Linked DNA regions of Homo sapiens: region 2 is linked to region 1. Evidence: promoter capture Hi-C in human tissues and cell types (Jung and others, 2019). All regions are on one chromosome and are shown on one strand. Each heading gives the region's core, a stretch centred on a gene start or on the middle of the fragment in contact. The rest is flanking DNA. Distances are from core to core; before and after follow the strand shown. Region 1 overlaps YWHAB (tyrosine 3-monooxygenase/tryptophan 5-monooxygenase activation protein beta). Region 2 holds the start of RIMS4 (regulating synaptic membrane exocytosis 4).

Region 1 (4,438 bases), core at 1,101-3,600:
AAACAAAATCCTAAATCAGATAATAAATGCTGAAAATAGAGGATCTAGGAAACAGCCTAGCCCCTCTATCCCAATTCCTTCCCCAAGGGACATCTTTCTAGTCAGGGTCAAAATACTGAGAAGTTATTTCCCAGTGGCTAGAGCAGATATCCTAGGAGAAGAATCAAAAAAGAAAGAAAGAAAAGAAAAAGAAGACTACCTACTGCTAATCCATTTTTTTTTAAATAAAGGCAGTGCAAAGACAGAAAGGGTTGAAAATGACAGCTGTGGCCTTTAGAAGCACTGGCTTTCAGCTATGTTTTGTTTTCAAGGCAAAGAACATGCTCGATTCGAAAATAATAAGCTTTGAATTTAATAATTTGTTAGAAATTTCAGATGAAGACTCCATTATTATATGTCAGGAATTACCCAAGCTCTATACATATAAAATATACGGTGGGGTCTGCTTTTAGCAAGCCTTACATACACATCTGAGCTTCTAAAGAGAAAGTAGGTGATTTTTCTACATTTCCACATTATAACTTACCTGAATCTGTTTTCTCAGTGTTAAAAAGAGACATTAATAGCTATCAAATAAGATAATGAACATAAAATGCCCATATAGTGCTGGTTAGAGTAAAGGCTCATAAGCCATTCTTATTTTTTATTCTTAAGCTACCTCACAAAAATGTAACACATATAATCCAATGTGTGTTGAAATAACTAACAAAATGAAAAACTACCAAATTTCTAAGAACTCTTTGGATTATTCATTGAGAGGAATTTAAAAGAAAGCAGTGTAGTCCTCCCCTCAGAGAGCTTAAACTCTAGTGGTAGAAACACAAGAAAAGAGCACATGTATATCTATTACACATCAATTAAAAAAAAAAACAGCACACGTTTAAGGGTTACAATGCCTCTCCTTAGAAAGCCAACCAGACAGAACTAGAGGAAATAGGTTTAAAGGTAGCTAGGTCGTGACTTAAAAAGAGATGTTATTAATAAAGTGCATGTATGTTTTTCTAGATGAGATAAAAATCAAAGGCCAAAGCAGATAAAGAAATGAGAATAAGGAAGAAAACTGACAAGAAAATCTGAAAAATCTAGGCTCGAATGTTTCAATGGGGTAAGGAACTGATCACATATTCTGAACAGCATTCACAGATGTACCATTCCAGATAGAGCATCCACAGCACTGTACAGCAGAAGTTTTAGTTCTGGAGTCTCTCTGCTGAAGAAAAATCAGATGCCAAGCTACTGCAGAAGGGACTGAGAAAGTCAGTGGGACCAGGTGGTTAGTGGGTGTTACCCAGAAAAAGTTAAACACTCCTGGCTCTCAGAGAAAACTACTCACTAAAAAACACCCACTATAAAACTGTCTGTGTGCCATTCTACATATAAAATTTAGAGTCCTGTAATAAATTTAATTCCATTCAAACATTTGCAGGTTCTTTGTTAGGAAACAAAACACAGCATATCTGTAATACAAAGTCATTAGCACTAAGTCCAGTGAACACTGAATTTGGAGAGAAACTGCATTTCTATTATTTCAAAATCCCTTCCCTCTTTCACATCAGCTGTTGCATATCATTGCTAATTATGTCCAATTAGCCATGATTAAACTTACTGAGGGTGTTAAGTGACAGGCGCAAGGTTACACATGTGACTTAATGGTAGATATGACAATAAATTGACTTCTTGGCTTAAGTAATCAATCCAAAAGACACTATGTTAATTCTGATCCATAAAGACAGCCCAATTGGTTGACCTTATGAATAATTTCTACAGTTTGGGGCCCACTGACATAATGAAGCCTATCAGTCTGATTTACCAGTACCGCACACCAAGTCCACAGGCTATGTGACCTCTGTGAATTTGTTTTCTCATCCATAATACAGGCAAATCTGGGCTGGGCGTGGTGGCTCACGCCTGTAATCCCAGCACTCTGGGAGGCCGAGGAGGGTGATCACTTGAGGTCAGGAGTTCAAGACCAGCCTGGCCAACATGGTGAAACCCCGTCTCTACTAAATATATAAAAAAATTAGCCGGGTATAGTGGCAGGCGCCTGTAATCCCAGCTAATTGGGAGGCTGAGGCAGCCTGAAGGCAGAGGCTGCAGTGAGCTGAGATCACGCCACTGCACTCCAGCCTAGGCGACAGAGCAAGACTCTGTGAAGAAAAAAAAAAACATAGGCAAATCTACTTACTAGGGTTCCTGTAAGGAGTAAACCTGTTTATGATATAAAACAGTAAGCACTCAAATAAATGGCAACCACAGTACATTCCACACAAAACTTAAAAAACCAATGGTCAGCCAGTGAAGGGAAACTTACTATGTACCTCATTTATTTTACACGTACTCTGCTTTCTTTAAAGACTTTTAAAAGAAAGGCACATAACAATTTCCCTATGCTTATTTCTAAAATGGCCCTTATCACAGTTTACTGCAATGCAAGTGTCTCTGCTGGCTCCCACACCGGATTGTGAGCTTAAAGTAGGAATCCAGCCAGGCGTGGTGGCTCACGCCTGTAATCCCAGCACTTTGGGAGGCCGAGGCAGGTGGATCGCAAGGTCAGGAGTTCAAGACCAGCCTGGCCAAGATGGCGAAACCCTGTCTCTACTAAAAATACAAAAATTAGCTGGGCGCAGTGGCAGGCGCCTGTAATCCCAGCTACTCAGGAGGCTGAGGCAGGAGAATTGCTTGAACCCGGGCTTCAGAGGTTGCAGTGAGCCAAGATCGTGCCACTGCACTCCAGCCTGGGTGACAGAGTGAGACTCCATCTCACAAAAAAAAAAAAAAAAAAAAAAAAAAGTAGGAATCCAGACTTGTATCTTTGGACACCCAATGTGGAGTACAAGGCCTAGCACACTGAGTGACTGCTTGATCAACTGATGCATTCTTAAAAAGTGAAAAAGCAATTATTTCCTACGTGGACAGAGGAAGGTAGCACACATCTGACCTATAAAATACAGACTGTTTTTATTGTCTTAGACTACTTTTTGAAAAAAGCCAGCCAGCTCTCATCAGGAGCAACACTATACATTTTGACTAATATTTTTCAGCTACCAATCATTGTATTTATAGATTCAAACTGACTTTCAACAAGCCTTTGGATTACTTTCTGTCCATCTCCTCCATTCAGAAGTCCAATCAGTTCGCTATACAAAAAGTTCACTATACAGAAACCCAAACCAGCTAACTCGTTTAGTAAATAACAAAAATATCCATCCATCATTTATGGCCTGCAAAGCACTCAGGGATTCCTAGAAACGCATTTGATCCTAAGTATCCTATGAGGCAGGTGACATTGTCCCGTTTTATAAATGCAAAGAGTTAACTCATTCAGGGTCACACAGCTATATATGGCAGATCTGGGATCTAAACCAACATTAATTTTAAAATTAATGCTCTTTCCTTTATGTAACCCTATCTCCTAAAGATCAATTATGAACTCCAATGCTCACTTAAGGAAAAGAGAGAATTGTCAACTTTTAAAAGAACTATACAAGGTTGTTACAGTGAAATTTTAAAACTGGCCTATTAAGCTAATGTTATCTAGCTTTAAAAATAAAAACAAAATCAAGGAGTTAAAAACAGCATAAAAACATGCCAAAGACTTACCAAAATGTCAAACAAATTTTAAAGGAAAGCTCTTAGCTGAGGGCAAATAATAATAATAGACAGGACTCATATCTACTTTATTGTAGCCTTCAATCTTCTTGTCCTGGTCAAGGCCATTCAGAAATAACCTCCTGTTGGTTCTTTTAGGGAAAACAATAAAATAAACTAACCAGTACGGGAAAAACTTACATAATAAAGAACTGGCCAGAATTTAAAAAAAAAAAAAAAGTTAACTAACCTACAATCTGCTAGGAATGACTTGAGGCCACTGATCATTTACATCTCATTACAAGTATCAGATACATATAACCACACCTCTATTAGAAAATCTTTTAGTTGAGAAAGCAGTAAGATGATTGGCCTTCAGCACACATATCATGAGACAGAAAGCACTTTTAGTCTGTTTCCTCAAGTATTCCCCTTAGAAAAATTCCCTCAGAATCCAGCTCCAACCGTTAGTTTCTCCATCATGCAATACAGATGACTGCTAAGATCATATTCACATAGAGATCAAAAGGATTCTAAAGCTTAAAGGTTGCTATTATGTAACCATAATTTCTTGCCCCTTAACTAGTGAATTGTCATCTTTCCCTAGAAAAATGTAGAAACAAGGAACTTAAAAGTATCTCTACAAGGAAATTTTAGTTCATTCTCTAAGGTACCAGCATTTAAAGGAAAACTCAGTTTGTTGACACCGAAAGAGCAGGTAGCACAACAGGATGTTTTAATTTAGAAGTTTCTCTCTATTTACGTAGATATATTTCCTCATTTCCTCCCTGCCAACAAAATGAGAAAAATCTGAACATCTACTGATGAAGTCGTAAGATAAACAAAAATT
Region 2 (4,438 bases), core at 634-3,133, 80 kb after region 1:
GGAAACTGCGACCCTGATCAGGAATCGCTACCGTGATTATATTACATTATATGTCAAAGGGACATCATGCGAGTGGACCTGATCTAATCACACGAGACCTTTAAAAGCAGAATCTCTCAGGCCAGTAAGCAGAAGCCAAGGTAGAAAGATTCTACTGAAGGATGAGAAGGGCTTGACATCCTGAAACTGGCCTTGAAGGTGGAAGGGGCCAGGTGAAAGGACCAGAAAGCCACTTCTAGGAGCTGAGGTTGACTTCTGGCTGACAGCCAGCAAGGAAACAGGAACCTCAGTCCTGCAACCACAAGGAACTGAATCCTGCCAACAACCTGAATGATCTTGGAAGCGGATTCTTCTCCAGAGCCTGCAGAGAAGAGCCCAGTCTGGCCAATACTTTGTGAGGCCCTAAGCAGAGAACCCAGCTCAGGCTGCCCAGACTTCTGACCTACAGGATTGTAAATCACTAGATTGGTGTTTTTAAGCTGCTTCATTTGTTATGCAGCAATAGAAAACAAACACCTGTGTTATCTTACAGGCAGTTCACAACCATCCAAAATGGAAGGCTCCTGTCCCCATTGTACAGATGAGGAACAGGACCCATGGGATAAAGAGTTTTGCCATAGGCCACCCAGAAAGACAGCACCACAGCTGAGATTCAAACTCTGGGCTGTCTCTTTCTGAGGCCTGAACTGTTTCCATGTCGCCAGATGGCTTCATAAAGAGGTGTGCGAGCAGCTGAGAAGGTTGTTTGACATCTGGGGCCTGATTAGGTGGGCAGGGACCCTCACGTCCCAGGTCACATGCAGGGAATGGAACACGGGTTTCCGATTCGCTCGTCTCTGTCCTGGGGCTGTGAGTGTCTGAGCCCGTGTGTGTCTGAGGACTGCGGGTCGCCGAGGGTGATAATGGGAGAGTCTGTGAGTGTGAGCCTGCCAAGTGTGTCTCAGTGTACCTGAGTCTGAGGGTGTCAGTCAATCCGTCGGGATGCACCCACACTGGGAGGGATGGAGTCTGTGTGGCTGTGTCTTGGCGTGTGTGTGCTACTCTAGTGTGTCTGAGGGTGAAGGTGTGTGCATCTGGCCGTGTCAGTCAGAGTGTTTGACAGTGCTGAGATGATCACAGGGGGAGGCGACACAGAGTGTGTGCTGGGTCTGGGCTTGTGTGTTCATCTGAGTGTATGAATGTGTGTATGAATTCTGGGGTGTCTTTGGTAAGTGTGAATGCATGAGACTGTGTATGCCTACCTGAACTTCGTGGGGTTTTGTGGCATCTGAGAGTCTCCCCGTGAGGGAGGCCGGGCACCAGGGATGTCCTGCCTACCTCCCTGAGTGTGTTTGCAGGTCTCTGCGTGAGTCTGCGTGTGTCCGTGGACGTGTCTGTCCCCGCATCTGTGAGGGGGTGGGTCTGTGGGTGTATCTGTCCGGGTGTCTGCGGGGCATGTTGCAGAGTGAATGTGTAGGTGTGGGTGCCTGTTTGAGCTTCTCTGTGGGTGCAGGTGTGAAGCCGAGGGTCTCTGTGTGGGAGGCCGAGTGCCGACCCGCCTGGGCGGGACCCTTTGAGCGCATCCCCTCCGAGCGCGCCAGTGTCTCTGGGAGAGGCCTGTCTGGGTGAGGGACTGGACGCCGGCCTCTCCGCAAGTCGGCCGGCTGAGGGTGGGGGCCGAGGCGGGGTCGGGAACAGCCCTCGGACCAGGGCCCAGACAACCTCGCCCGGCGCCTGCCTCCCCGCGCGCACCTGCCGGGCCCGGGGGCTGCTAGAAGAGGCCGCAGCCCGCGCCCTCCGGGCTCCCACGCCCCGCAGCGGCGCCCCCTCCCCCGGCGGCACGGATTGGCTGCGGCGCCGCTCCAAGCCCGCCTCGCGCTGCCGGCGGGGGGCGCCGCGGACCAGAGCGCGCTGCGCCGCCACCGCCGCCGCCACCGCCGCCGCCGCCGCCGCCGCCAGCAGCACAGCGCGCCTCGGGCTCCGCGCGCCGCCAGCTCCTGGCCCGCCCGCCGGCCCCGCCGCGCCCGCCAGCCCCGCAGCGGAGCCTCGGCCCGGCCCCGGGCCGCCGCCACCACGCCGCGCGCCGTACTCCGCGTCAAGAATGGGGCGGCCAAGCTGCCCAAGCCGCCCGCCGCCGCCGCCGCCGCCGCGGCCGAGGCGCCCGGCGCCGGCGCGGGCATGGAGCGCTCGCAGAGCCGCCTCAGTCTGTCCGCCTCCTTCGAGGCGCTCGCCATCTACTTCCCGTGCATGAACTCCTTCGACGACGAGGACGCAGGTAAGCGCGCGGCCCGCCCCCCAGACCCCCGGGGTGTCCCGGGATCCAGGTCCGGTAGCCCCCTCCCCGACCCGTGCGCCCTCCTCCCCACCCCCAATCCCCTGGGAAGGCGCCCCCAGGGTCTCCTTCCGCACCCACGGGACCCCAGGGTCTCCAGGATGCGCTACCTTCTGGCCTTCTCCCCCAGGGACCCCGAGATTGTCTGCATTCACCTTTCCCGCAGGTGGGCCCTTTGGGTCGCCAGGACCCATCTCCCTCCTCACCCGCGCCTATTGGAGGCCCCTTGCCTCGTCCCTGGAGCCGACCTGCCACCCTCCCTGAGTCTCCTGAATGTGCCCACTCTTCAAGCCCTGGGCTTTGGCCGTCCCACCCCTGGGGCTCCGACGCGCCCCCCGCCATTGGAGGTGGCGCGCAGACCTTACCTCTCCATCTTTGTCTTGGCCACATCCAGAGGATCCCTGCCCAAGACCCCTGCCCGGCGCCCCAGGCCTTGAGCGCCCCCATTTATCTCTCCTCTCCTTCCCTCATGGGCTGGGGCTCCAGACTCCTGCTTCTTATACGCCTGGGGCAGACGGAGGGGAACCGGCCAGGTGACGGCCTTTCCTCCCCTCTCTTCCCGGAGAGAGGTGTAGGGCGGCGCCAACTCTACACTTGTCCGCCCGCTGGTGTGTGCCCCTGACCTCAGGTGCTCTTGTCCCTGGAGTCGCCTTTCTTGGTGGGCTGAAGCCGGCCACCAGCCAGCGGCTTGAACCTCCTCCTCCCAGGCCTGCGCACAACCTCAGCCAGAGCGAGGGGTGGGGAGCTGTAGGGAAACCTACTCTTTAGGGCCCTGGGACCCGGCAGAAGGAACATGAGAGCTCCGGATTTGGTTCTGGGGTGAGGAAGGGAATCCACCAACAGGTGGGGTAGCTAGAGGGCTTGGGTGAGAGTTCCCCAAAGAATGCCAGATTGGGAATCGGAATCAGGTTCCAGTCTTCATTCTCTACTTCTTAGCTGTGACCTTGGGCAAGTCATGCCACCTCTGAGCCTGGATTTCCTCATCTCTGAAATGGGGATCATCGTATCGATGCAAAGCTCTGTATGGTGTGAGGGTGGAGTTCAGTGTTTTATAAGGTGAAAATCCGAGAGTCTTTGAATTCAATGGGGGAACAAAACAGAGGAGTGTATGTGCTGGAGGAGTGTATGTGCTTGAGGAGCAAAATGGTTTCATGGGCACTTTCAAGTCTCTGAGGAAAACATGGACTATCTCTCCCGAAGTGCATATATGCACCATCCACAAAATGTAGCCTACGGTTTTAGGAAGTTCCTGGGCCCAGGTTTAGACTTAGTCTTTGGGGACCCTTGTCTGATCAACCTGGCCACCAAGGTTCCATCATGGGATGAAGTGGTGGGCATGTCTTCCTGCCCTTTCTCCAGAAGAATTTGTTGACTGGTGAATGAATGGGGATAGGTGAGGCAGATCCCCAATAGACCTGTCTTTCTATTGACCTGGAGGTGGGGATGGGGGTAAGGGTAAAGATGATTACTGCAGAGACATTTTACCATTTTTATAATCACCATTTTACAGAAAAAAACAACTGAGGCTCAGAGGTTTAACTTCTGCCTTCATGTAGCTGAGGGAGGTTGTATTATTATTCTGGACAAGGCAAGGTGGGAAGAAGTAGGGGGCTCCCCAACACAGTAGAGTGGTCAGCAGTCCACTTGGATCTCAAGAGCCAGGCTGGGCAGGAGCATGGGTTTGTAGGAGCATCAGAGGCAGGAGCGGTTTAGTTTTTCTTCAAAGTCATGCTGTGTGTCATGGGTCAAACACCTTGGTTATTGCAGGCTGCAGGCAACTTGCTCTGGTTTCACTTAAGTCAGAACAGATAACTTCAAGTAGTATTAATGATATTTTTAAAGGTCCACTCATGTTTGTTTTTTCCAGCAGCCTTCTTGAAATTCTTTAGTATTTCACTTGGAAGAGACCTAGAAATCATCTTGTCTATCCCCTTTTTGCCCGCAAATGGATGGGGGTGTGTGTGTATTTGTGTGAGTGTTTGTGTGTGTGTGACTGAAGCCCTGGAATGGGTGTGTGTGTATATATATATATATACACACACACATATATATGCCAAGGTCATCTAGTGAGGCAGCCACAGAGCTGAGACTAAAATCAGGTTTATGGTTCTCTTTCCATTAAACCAG

The links. Contacts are between HindIII fragments. The study calls those that stand out against the background at their distance.
Region 2: a contact is called between the fragment with the promoter of RIMS4 here and a fragment that was not itself captured in region 1, in 2 of the 25 tissues and cell types used here (H1 embryonic stem cells and dorsolateral prefrontal cortex).

Annotation. Positions count from the first base shown.
Region 1 is chr20:44,888,853-44,893,290 of GRCh38, reverse strand. The region is part of intron 1 of YWHAB (tyrosine 3-monooxygenase/tryptophan 5-monooxygenase activation protein beta); the gene reads right to left. Among named protein-coding and RNA genes, the nearest start is that of YWHAB, 5.4 kb to the right of the region's middle. The HindIII fragment of the contact is 5,673 bases long and covers 1-4,438 here.
Region 2 is chr20:44,807,991-44,812,428 of GRCh38, reverse strand. RIMS4 (regulating synaptic membrane exocytosis 4) reads left to right here and starts at 1,883. Exons shown (of 6, transcript NM_182970.4): 1 at 1,883-2,254. The coding sequence starts at 2,158. The HindIII fragment of the contact is 17,434 bases long and covers 1-4,438 here.